2 separate regions of the Homo sapiens genome follow, and region 1 is linked to region 2. The links are contacts of gene promoters, found by promoter capture Hi-C in human tissues and cell types (Jung and others, 2019). All regions are on one chromosome and are shown on one strand. Each heading gives the region's core, a stretch centred on a gene start or on the middle of the fragment in contact. The rest is flanking DNA. Distances are from core to core; before and after follow the strand shown.

Region 1 (5,671 bases), core at 1,711-4,210, 1.4 Mb before region 2:
TAGAATATAAATTACTGCTGTTGGTTATGGGTATCCGAACTAGAATCAGAAGCAGGAAGTGTTTGTAAAAGGGTGTCTGGAAATCTGAAAACTAAATATTCAGTTAGGCTTTACCTACTTAGTTGAAGACAGAAAAAAACAACCACCTGATATCTTCAGGCAAGTGCTGCATGCTCTAAAAAGACACCATTTGGGGAGTATAAAAGAATACACCAACATGATCTCTGCAGCAAATGTCGCAATACAAGCCAAGTGCCCACTAGTAAGATTGCTCAGATAAATTATTATCTATGTAACAGAACATTGTTCAAGAGTTCAAAATAAAATGAAGTAAATCTATAAATAATGACCTAGGGAAGTCTATGAGGTATTTTTAAGCAAACAAAAAGCATGACCACATTTCCATTTTTTGAAAAACGCTATTAATGATGTATATGTATATACATGGATATATGTATGTTTGCATGATCACAGAGGATAACAGAAACTAGCAAGTGGGAATGTTGCCAGTGGTTACTACTGGGTCTGAAATGATGGTCAAAGACTGCTCTTGCTCTTTATCCCACATGCTGTTTTAAAAAGAAGAAAGATAATGTGATTAAAGGTAATTTGAACTTGTTACTCTTGCTGTTTTTATTTTTATTTTACTATTTTATGTCATAAAATATTACTGAAATTTGAGGATAAAAAGCAAGTACGTGAAGATTTCAATTACTGATCCATCTCTCCCTTTCAATCCCTTGAAGCAAAGATTCGTCATTTAGAATTCAGACCTGCCAAGACCACGGATGCTTTGTCTCAGGTGAAAATTTACATGAAATGTAACACTTCTAAGTCCATTGTCACCATGTTTATTGATGCCTTAAAACAAGAGCTCAGATGTGGGCATGCTCACCCAAAAGAAAGAGGTAAATCATTGTATTTCTCTATGCAGAGGCTCTGAATCTAAACTGAGGATGGAGATAAAGTTCTGCCATTTCCCTGGATTGGCTATGATTACAAACCTGTTCCACTTTAAAGGCAGTTCCTGGAATTGGCATGTGCCACAGTCTACACACAACTTTGCTATTTCAAGCCTTTCTAACTAAGGAGACAGCAGAACATCATAGTTAAACAAGGGCTGAACATGGTTTTGCCATTCACTCAATACATGACCTTAAGCAAGTTATTCATCATCTTGTGCTTTGGTTTCCTCACTGGTAAGGTGAGAACATAACAGTATCCACCTTATAGGTTTGATGGGAGTGTTAAGGAAGACAAGCCTGTAAGGAGCTTAGCAGAATGCTAACTGTAGTAGTTATTATCACTAATCCTACGTGGAAAAAATGCAAATCAAGGAGAGTGGAAACCTGTTGAAAGCAAATTGGTCCTTTTTGGATAAAAATATCCATAATGAACAAGAGGGATGGAGCTGGAGATTATAGGTTAAGGAACCTGACGCTACAGTCTGCATAGTTAGATGGAATAACGTGGAGGGTTTGAGTCAGGACCCCTGGATTCAACTCCCAGCTGTGCCGCTTACCAGCTATTCCCACATGAACAAATATGTTACCTCTCTGTACTTCTTGTTAACTACAAAATGCCAACAATAATACACACTTTCTATGCAGACTGTGAAAATTAAACGAATTCTAAGCATTCAGTACATGTTAGCTACCATCTGTCTCTTACCCTCTAAAAGCAAAATTGCTTCAGATGCTCTCAGTGACCCTCCCCCCACCCTTCTGCCCTTTCCTTTTCAGTGCAGAATGGCTGGCTGCCAACTGCCAGCTCCTAAGTTTCTCTTTTTAAAAGTTTTATTCAGATTCTAAGGCACTTTGCCTTTATGGTAGACCAAAAGTTCCTAGGAATTAATACCTTTGCATCACATTATTCCTCTACCAATGACCAGTAAGAGCTGGTAGAGGCTTTCTTCCTCACTGACTCTCAAAGTTTTATCAGAGGCAGTAAGCTCAGTTGCCCACAATAATAGCTGCCTGCCTGATAACACTCCATGTAATTATTGCCTTTCTTTACCTGTCTCTGTTTCCCATTTTTCTATTTTTAGTTTCCAACTATACTATTTCCACCAGGATCCTTTTCTCAGAGTCTGCTTCTAAAAGACCCAAACTAGGACATATGTGCATATGATGATAATGACGACAATGATGAAGACGATGATGATGATGATGATGATGATGATGGTGTGTGTTTCTCACCCAAGCTTCTGCGTTGTTTTTTCCCCAAGAGTCTCATCTATTAGCCCTTATCCTATAAATGATTAATGCTAATGTCTCTTTTTTTCTCTCTTAGCTCGGATATCTTCATTTCTCCTTCTTACAGTTTCCTTGTTTCCGAGGAAAAACACAAGATCTTGACAACTGCAATCACCTGGTAACCAATCATGAATCTGGTATGGACCACTTTCACCCTGTAAGTAAAATGCACTTGTTTATCTTAATTCCACCTCACAACTTATTGGTTATACTCTTCAACCTTCCAAAAAGAAGATTCTAGGCAGGCTTTTTATCTGCACTGAAAATAAATGCCATCATTGCCACTATCACGCAAGAAGCTGACAGGCAGATCCCTATCTTTCCTAAGAATATGGCTAGAAATTTAGGCCAATCAATATGTTGTACTATAAAAACTCTAGCCCCAAATATATAGACAAAGGTAAATTGAACTCTCTTGTTCATGTGTAACTTGGAGAGAGTAATTCCACACAGTAGAGTGAGTAGTCTGGAGTGAATAGTCTGGGCTGGGTTTATATCTTGCCTCCTCCACTCCTAGCTGGGTAACCTTGGGGAATTTATTTAACCTACATCAACTTTGGTCTCCCTGTTTATGAATTGGGGATAATGAAAATAATACATACTTCACATTCTTTTTGGTAAGGATTATATATACTATATATAGTAAGTACTTAATACAAAGGCATATAGTTAGTGTCCAGGAAATGTTAACCCTTGTTATTCCTATTGATAATAATAATAAACAGCAATAGAATCTTACTGAGGAACCATAAGGGACCTCATGGTACATACCAGATTTATACATCTCAAAGCTGAAAAGAGACCACAGACATTCTGCAGCACAGAAATTCCCCAGCTGAGGTCAGGTGAGGTGACCTTCTCAAAAACACAGGATTCATTTCAACAAGCAAACGTGGTGATTGCTTACTGCATGATAGATATGATTGTTGATATTGGGTTTGTTATTGTACGTACTACAGGCTAAGAGGAGAGTTAGTTTTTGGAACACAAAAAGGCTATAATTTCATGCAGAATCTGTTTATTGAGATCTAGCAGGTGGCCACAAATAATACCTAACACCAGCTGAAAATAGGAAACCATTTCTCTTTTCCAGGCCAAGAATATTTCCAGGAACCAAACTGCTTTGGAAGGGGAAGTGGGGCTTCTTGGATAAAGTTTCCTGGAGAGAAAAGGAGTTCTAATTAGTATGGGCACTGAGGTGAGGATAGATAGAAACAGACATGGGGGCAGCATGCTTCTGTCTGGCCACCCTTAGCGGGTTGATATCTTGATCAGTTGGTTGGTCAGTTCCTAGGATAGAATAAGGATCCACAGCATGTAGACCATATCACTGCCTAGGAAACACACAGTGGTGCTTGCCCTAGGAATTTCTGCCCCTTCTTTCCAAGACCCCACATTGGAGGCTCTATCCAGAGTGAACTACTGAAATTCTTTTAGAACTTTTAACCCAAATAAAGCTGGGCTACCTTATGTCCTATTTTAGAAATAGTACTTCTTTCTAAAGAAATGTCATCATGACAAAAACAAAAAAACAACAACAAAAAACATTGTCAAGCAATATAATTCTTTAGTGGAATCTTTGGAAAGGGCAACTTATGGGAAATTCCATTTCTTGCCATACAGTAAAATGCCCTGATGCGCCACAAATTGCTCTTCTCTCTTTTCCTGTACTTTTTATCAGTCTCAAACCTCCAGCTCTTCTTTCTTTCTCATATTTATCTTCCTATCTCCTGACTTTCTGGCTCCAAAGATAACAGCGTTATGGTACACATCAGAATCTCTGAAACCAAATTGGCTAATTAGCTTTGAACCTCGGCACTATCATGGTTTGTTTGTGGTCTTGGAAAAGTTGCCCAACAGTGGTTGACATATATTATATTAACTTTTACCTTGTGCCAGGCAGGTATTAAGTAACTAGCCCAAAGTTACTTAGCTAGTTAATGATAGAGCCAGGACCTGGCTCAAGCAACTTGACTCCAAAGCCTACATTCTTCTTCTTTTTTTTTTTTTTTTTTTTTTTTTTTTTTTTTTTTTAGCGGAGTCTTTCTCTGTCACCCAGGCTGGCACAGTGCAATGGCACGATCTCAGCTCACTGCAACCTCCGCCTCCTGGGTTCAAGTAATGCTCCTGCCTCAGCCTCCTGAGTAGCTGAGATTACAGATGCATGCCACCACACCCAGCTAATTTTTTTTTTTTTTTTGTATTTTTAGTAAAGACAGGATTTCACTATGTTGGCCAGGCTGGTCTTGAACTCCTGACCTCAAGCAATCCTCCTACCTTTGCCTCCCCAAGTGCTGGGATTACAGGCGTGAGCCACCACACTTGGCCCAAAGCCCAGACTCTTGAGGACTATGCTGTTCTGCTATGTTATGCCTCAGTTTTCTCATCTTTAGATGGGGGTAATAATAATACTGCTTCATGGCAGGAAAAATAATGTACTGGGGAGTGTTAACGCTATAAATATATTAATTTCCTTCTGACATTAAATGGTTTTAATGGTTGCATTTTACTGAGTCTACTAAAATTCAGAGACATTAAGTTACTTTTTTTGTAGTCTCCCTGGTAAGTTGCTGAACAAAGCTGGGCTTAAATTTAAATCTATACTATTTCTAGTTGAGGCATTCAAACTCATACTCAGCCATCTGAGGATGATGTAGTATTGGGCGTCTGATTTTTACCTTCCTGGGCCTCAGTTTTCTCACCTTTAAATTTAGGGTGTTCACCTCACAAATCCATGATAATTATAAAAATTCGATATAAAATTGTAATTTGTAGACCTTCCAATGGCATGGACATGTTAAGTGTGGTATTGTTAAGTATTATTGGGTCTTTCTAGAAGCGTTTGCCCAAGTTGCACAGAGCTGGGGAATAAACAAAGTTTCATGGAAACACCAGACACGTCAAAATCACCCAAGGACACCACAGATGGCCATTCAGCCTACTGGGGGATCTAGTAAGAGAACCTACTGAGGAGAGGATAGAGGGGAGCCTGCTAAGGTACCTGAGGCCAGAGATACAGGAAAATTAGCTGACCTCACTGCACATGTGGGGATGGGGGGAGAATCCCTGTTCTGCTGGAACAACAGCGCTTCAGAGAGGCTACTACTCATGGTGAAGAAGGAAGCTTTAACAGTGGAGATCATGAAGACCACAATCACCTACACATCCAATCTTCCCTTATCCCCTGTCCTAACAGAATCGCTGTACTTGCCTTTCCTTTGAACGTGGGTTGCCTCAGGCATTTGTTCAACAAATACTTGTTAAGCACCTATGATGTGACAGACACTATTCCAAAGCATACAGACAAGATTTCTGCTTTTATAATATCTGTATCCTGACAGAGGGAGGCAGGAGGGGAGACTAAAAGAAACAAATGAAGGATATGATTATTTTGTCTGATAAAGACTGTGAAGAAA
Region 2 (5,161 bases), core at 1,336-3,835:
ATGAGTCACCGTGCCCCGCCTCAGTTCTCTTTTAAAGGGAATCTGTATTTTCAAGAATTACACACATCATACTCAAATATAAATCTGACATTGACCTAAGTTTGAAGTAGTAATGGCCAAGATCTTTCAAGCAGCAGCAAACTAATCTTGTTTAAGAGGAGGTATTATAGAATCATAAGCACAGAGGTCCAATAATTAGACCACACAGTGCTTACAAAGGATAGCCTTAGAAAGGTTCAGGTGTTTAGGTAGAGCCCTTCTCCCCTTCTCAAACCATTAACAAAAATAAAAATAAACAAAACAAAACTTTTCCTTGCAGGAAAATTTCCGTGAACCTGTGGTTTTGGGGGCAAGGATGAGAGCAAGAGGCAAAAACTAGTTCAGAACCTAGACAACTAGTGGAGTCTGCAAACAAATCAAAACCAAGATAGGCATGGTTGGTGAGCATGTAAATTGGTATAGCCACTATGGAAGGCAGTATGGAGGCTCCTCAAAAAATTAAAAATAGAACTACAGTATAAACCATATAGTATATACCATATATATCATATATGCATATGTACCATATATACAATATATACGTATATACCATATATTCTGGGTATATATCCAAAGAAAATGAAATCAGTATGTCAAAGAGATATCTGCATCACCATGCTCATTGCAGCATTATTCATAATAGCCAAAGTATGGAATCACCTAAGAGTGAACTGATGGATAAAGAAAACGTGAAATGTAAAAATGTGGTATATGTATGTATATTTATATATATAATGAATACTATGCAGCCTTTAAAAAGAAGAAAATCCTGTCATTTGTGACAACATGGGTGAATTTATGCTAAGGGAAATAAGCTAGGCACAGAAACACAAATACTTCATGATCCCACTTATATGTAGAGTCAAAAAAAGTGGAACTCATAGAATGAGAGCAGAATAATGGCGGGATCTTGGCTCACTGCAACCTCTGCCTCCCAGGCTCAAGTGATCCTCCCATCTCAGCCTCTCAAGTAGCTGGGACTACAAGTGCCACTGTGCCTGGCTAATTTTTTTATTTTTTTGTAGAGATGGGGTCTCACTATGTTGCCTAGGCTGGACTCCAACTCCTGGGCTCAAGGGATCTGCCCGCCTCGGCCTCCCAAAGAGCTGGGATTACAGGCCTGAGCCACGACACCTGGCCGACCTTAAATATTCTTAGCACAAAATAAACATATACACACAAGCACACACGACTATGTGAGGTGATGGGTATGTTATCATTTCACAACATATACAACTATGAAAACATCACATGGTACACTGTAAATATATACAATTTTTATTTAAAGCTAGAAAAATTCTTTTAAAATAAACTAAAAAGGCAGTCCATAAGCTTCTGTTGAATGGATGAAAATCTCTACCATAAATAAAAACATAATATGCAAAGGTATTAATAAGATTTGGAAGAAAACCTAAGAGAGTATTAACAGTAGTGACTACTGGGGATCACCGAGATACAGGGTATTAGGGATGGAAGGTTTACTTTTCTCTTTTTTTTTTTGAGACGGAGTGTCGCTCTGTCGCCCAGGCTGGAGTGCAGTGGCACGATCTCGACTCACTGCAACTTCTGCCTCCTGAGTTCAAGTGATTCTCCTGCCTCAGCCTCCTGAGTAGCTGGGACTACAGGCGCCCGCCACCACGCCTGGTGAATTTTCTGTATTTTTAGTAGAGACGGGGTTTCACCGTGTTAGCCACGATGGTCTCGATCTCCTGACCTCGTGATCCGCCCGCCTCGGCCTCCCAAAGTGCTGGGATTACAGGCGTGAGCCACCGCGCCCGGCCGGAAGGTTCACTTTTCAATGGATCTTTGGGAAGTTTCAAAACATACATGCTCAACCTTTAAAAATTTCTCTAGGGGAAATCCCTTCTCCACATCCTATAGGTGTGCTTCCTTCTTCCTCTCCACACACTTCACTATCAAAACCTACATTACTTCCAACAGTCGACCCTCGAGGGAATAAGTCCCTGGTCCCCACGATCGGGACCAGCCAGTCCACACTGCCGACCCCTGAAAGGCGGTCTCAGCTGCTCGGTCAGCGAGAAAAAAAGCCGGCGAGGTCCTCGTCCTGCAGGCCACAGCGAAGACAAAAACCTCTGGTTACTGGCCTCAGGTGCAAGGCTGCTCCGCATTGGCAGCGCGGTACCATTCCTATTATTATTACGTAGTCTTGTTTCTTTCTGGGAGAAAGCACCTAGGGAGAGTTGGGCTGGCCCCGCAGGGCGCTCCGGGACACGCGTCCTCTGCAACGCCGCAGCCTGCGCCAGCGTTCGACCGGGACGACTCATCGAGGCCCGACTCGCATTTTCAGTTGTCAGATTCGCCACTTTTTGGTGTCAGAATTTAAAACAAAAATTCCAATTTCTCTATTTCAGAAGCTCTTTCTGTCCAGAAAAACACAAGCAGGAGAGACTTCAGGTTTTTGAATTATTCGTCTCTTCTGGCCTCCACGGTATCTACATCCAGTGAGCGGGGACCGTGAGTCGAAAGCGACGACGCGGATGCTCAGGCCACCGTTCCCGGCGCGCAGTCGCAGCTGACCCTCGCTCCCGCCCCCGCCTGGAGTCCGACGTGGAAGTTGCTGGCTGACTGGGCTTGCGAGGAAACCGCCTCGGAGCTGCAGCCGAAGGCCAAGGAATCACTGAAGATCGGCGAGGGAGGACAGGGGGTTCATCATGGGTGAGGGGTTCGAGAAGGGCACCTGGGCGCGCTCGAGGGAGCCGCGGCCGAGGGCTGGGGTGCAGAGGAGGAGAGGGGCCGGCCAGGATACCCTAGAGTAGCCAGCTCCTCAGGGGGCGGGTCGCGGAGGACTTGACTCACTTTGGATCTTCATCTGTAGGGGTGGATCCGGCCTCTCGCGTTCTCCTCCGTCCTCTCTCGGTTCCCCTTGATTCCTGCGGGGTCCAGGGACCCGGACAGCTTGGGGACGTCCGCAGAGCCTGGGTTCGAGTTCTTTACCCTTATCATGAAGTTTTCCCTCATCCCCAGCTCCACTTGCTGGGCAGAGTTGTTCTTGCGGAGGCTGGCAACGCGTCAGTCGCAGGTTCGCCGAGGTTTCTTGGTGAAAGATGAGCTGCGGCCCCAGAGTGGAAGCTTAATCATTCTCTTTACCAGGGGCGCTGGGACGGCGTCAGTTTGAAAAACCTGAGAGCAGGTGTTGCTTATGTTGTTTTATGGCCAGTTTGGCATTTGTCTGCTAATCTGCTGTAGCGTTTCATGTAATAATACGGGTATTTCTAGTCGGCAAATGAAACTTTATTCTTGGTTCTTGGCCCGCTGATTGAGGGAACTGCATTCTCACAAGCATCAGGTAACACCCTCGCCCCGCTAGAACCCAAGTGAGGGTGCACATTCTTTAACTCGTTTCTCACCCTCCAAATGAAGGTGCAGATTCTTTGGCTTGGTTAAATCCCTCCACAGTTTTCTGGGGAGCATACTTCTTGCTCCCAAGCATCACAGGCGCTGTCCTGTCTTCCATAACCGCCTTCAGTTTTGTTCCGCCTCTCTTCTACCTGTAAATGGTAGAAAGGACTTTGTCAAGTCACACCTATTCTGTTGAACTTTCCCAAGGTTCTCTAGCCCATGGTGTTGTTCATTTTTCAACTCGCAGCTCTTAGTTATGCCATGTCTTTGCCAAATAACAGTGTGGCATCACTTCTGATGTTAACTATTTTTTTTTGTATTAATGTAACTTGTTTTTAATCTTCTCTAATGGCTCTGGATGGGAAAAGGACTGTGCTTTTTATCCTACACAATACTTGGTGTACAGGAAGCTTTCTGGGAATATTTTGTGATGCATTGGATAGAGCTTTATTATTTTTAAAAGTGGGTTTTTTGTCAAAAATAGTTATTGTTTTCAGCTTTTTTCTCAATTTCTTGTACTAGCTATATTGCTTCGTGGAGAACTCTGATTGAAGTTGGTTATAGTGGTACTGCTGCTGTACAGTACTTTTCCTGTGCGAGGATTACATTGTCCCACTATCCTCCTTACTGGCCCCTTGGTTTTTAGGGGTAGTGAGGGGATCATGCTAAAATATTCCTATTCTGCTGATTAGAAAATGAGATTCCCAAAGGCCGCGGCCATATTTCTCTTATTATTTGGTTTATCTTCTGTGCCTGCATGACACAATAGTAACATAACTAAGGACATAGTAACATAACTAATTACTTGTTTGATATTGAATAATATATTTCATTGGGAGGAAAAATATGCACCTACGCATCCAGGAAATTATAATATTTAATTTGGTATTTAGCTCTCAAAGGACAAGGTTAGATGTTTTGTATACCTAGTTCACAAAATGACATTGTGTATGTTTTTTCTTTTATTATTTTTTAGGTGGCTTTTTCTCAAGTATATTTTCCAGTCTGTTTGGAACTCGGGAAATGAGAATTTTAATTTTGGGATTAGATGGAGCAGGAAAAACCACAATTTTGTACAGATTACAAGTGGGAGAAGTTGTTACTACTATACCTAGTAAGTGTTGGTATGATGAGCTAATTGTAGGGACTTTCTGGTCTCCATCCAACATAACTATTTCTTTCTTTCTTTTTTGTTTGTTTTAGTAGAGATCAGGTATCATCACTATGTTGTCCAAGCTGGTCTTAGACTCTTGGCCTCAAGTGATCCTCCTGCCTTGGCCTCCCAAAGTGCTGGGATTACAGGCATGAGCCACTATGCCAGGCCTATTTCTGAATAAATTAATTCATATAATAAAGTATTTGATAAAGTTTGTAAACTGCTAGTATGAACATAACATTGATAACACTTTTTCCATCAACTAAGAGGCAGCTTAGTGTAATTTAAGGACCCTTGTTCTGGTTTACGGCCGGGTTGGGCTGTTTATAGGTTTAAGTTACTAAATCTTACTGAGAGCCAGTATCTTTACTAATAAAATACATAAGATAACAAATACCCACTGGTTTTCAGGGGGAAATAAACAAAGTAGGTAAAAGTACCTTTTAAATCTGTGTAAAGAATTATATAAATGTTAAGTGATGTTACATGTGAAGTGCCTTTTTTTCCTGTATTTGTTACTATTTTAATTAAGATTAGTTTATCTTAGGTAATTATATTGATTACTTTTAAAGATCTGAGTTGCAGAGACTGAGTGTTGAAGTAATT

What was found. Contacts are between HindIII fragments. The study calls those that stand out against the background at their distance.
Region 1: a fragment that was not itself captured here is called in contact with the fragment with the promoter of ARL1 in region 2 in 1 of the 25 tissues and cell types used here (lymphoblastoid cells).

Annotation. Positions count from the first base shown.
Region 1 is chr12:102,817,839-102,823,509 of GRCh38, reverse strand. It overlaps LINC00485 (long intergenic non-protein coding RNA 485), which reads left to right. Exons shown (of 5, transcript NR_033855.1): 2 at 747-802; 3 at 2,293-2,412. Among named protein-coding and RNA genes, the nearest start is that of LINC00485, 3.7 kb to the left of the region's middle. The HindIII fragment of the contact is 6,778 bases long and covers 1-5,671 here.
Region 2 is chr12:101,405,196-101,410,356 of GRCh38, reverse strand. ARL1 (ARF like GTPase 1) reads left to right here and starts at 2,585. Exons shown (of 6, transcript NM_001177.6): 1 at 2,585-2,715; 2 at 4,376-4,513. The coding sequence starts at 2,712. RefSeq lists enhancers at 2,923-2,972, 3,053-3,102. The HindIII fragment of the contact is 11,101 bases long and covers 1-3,469 here.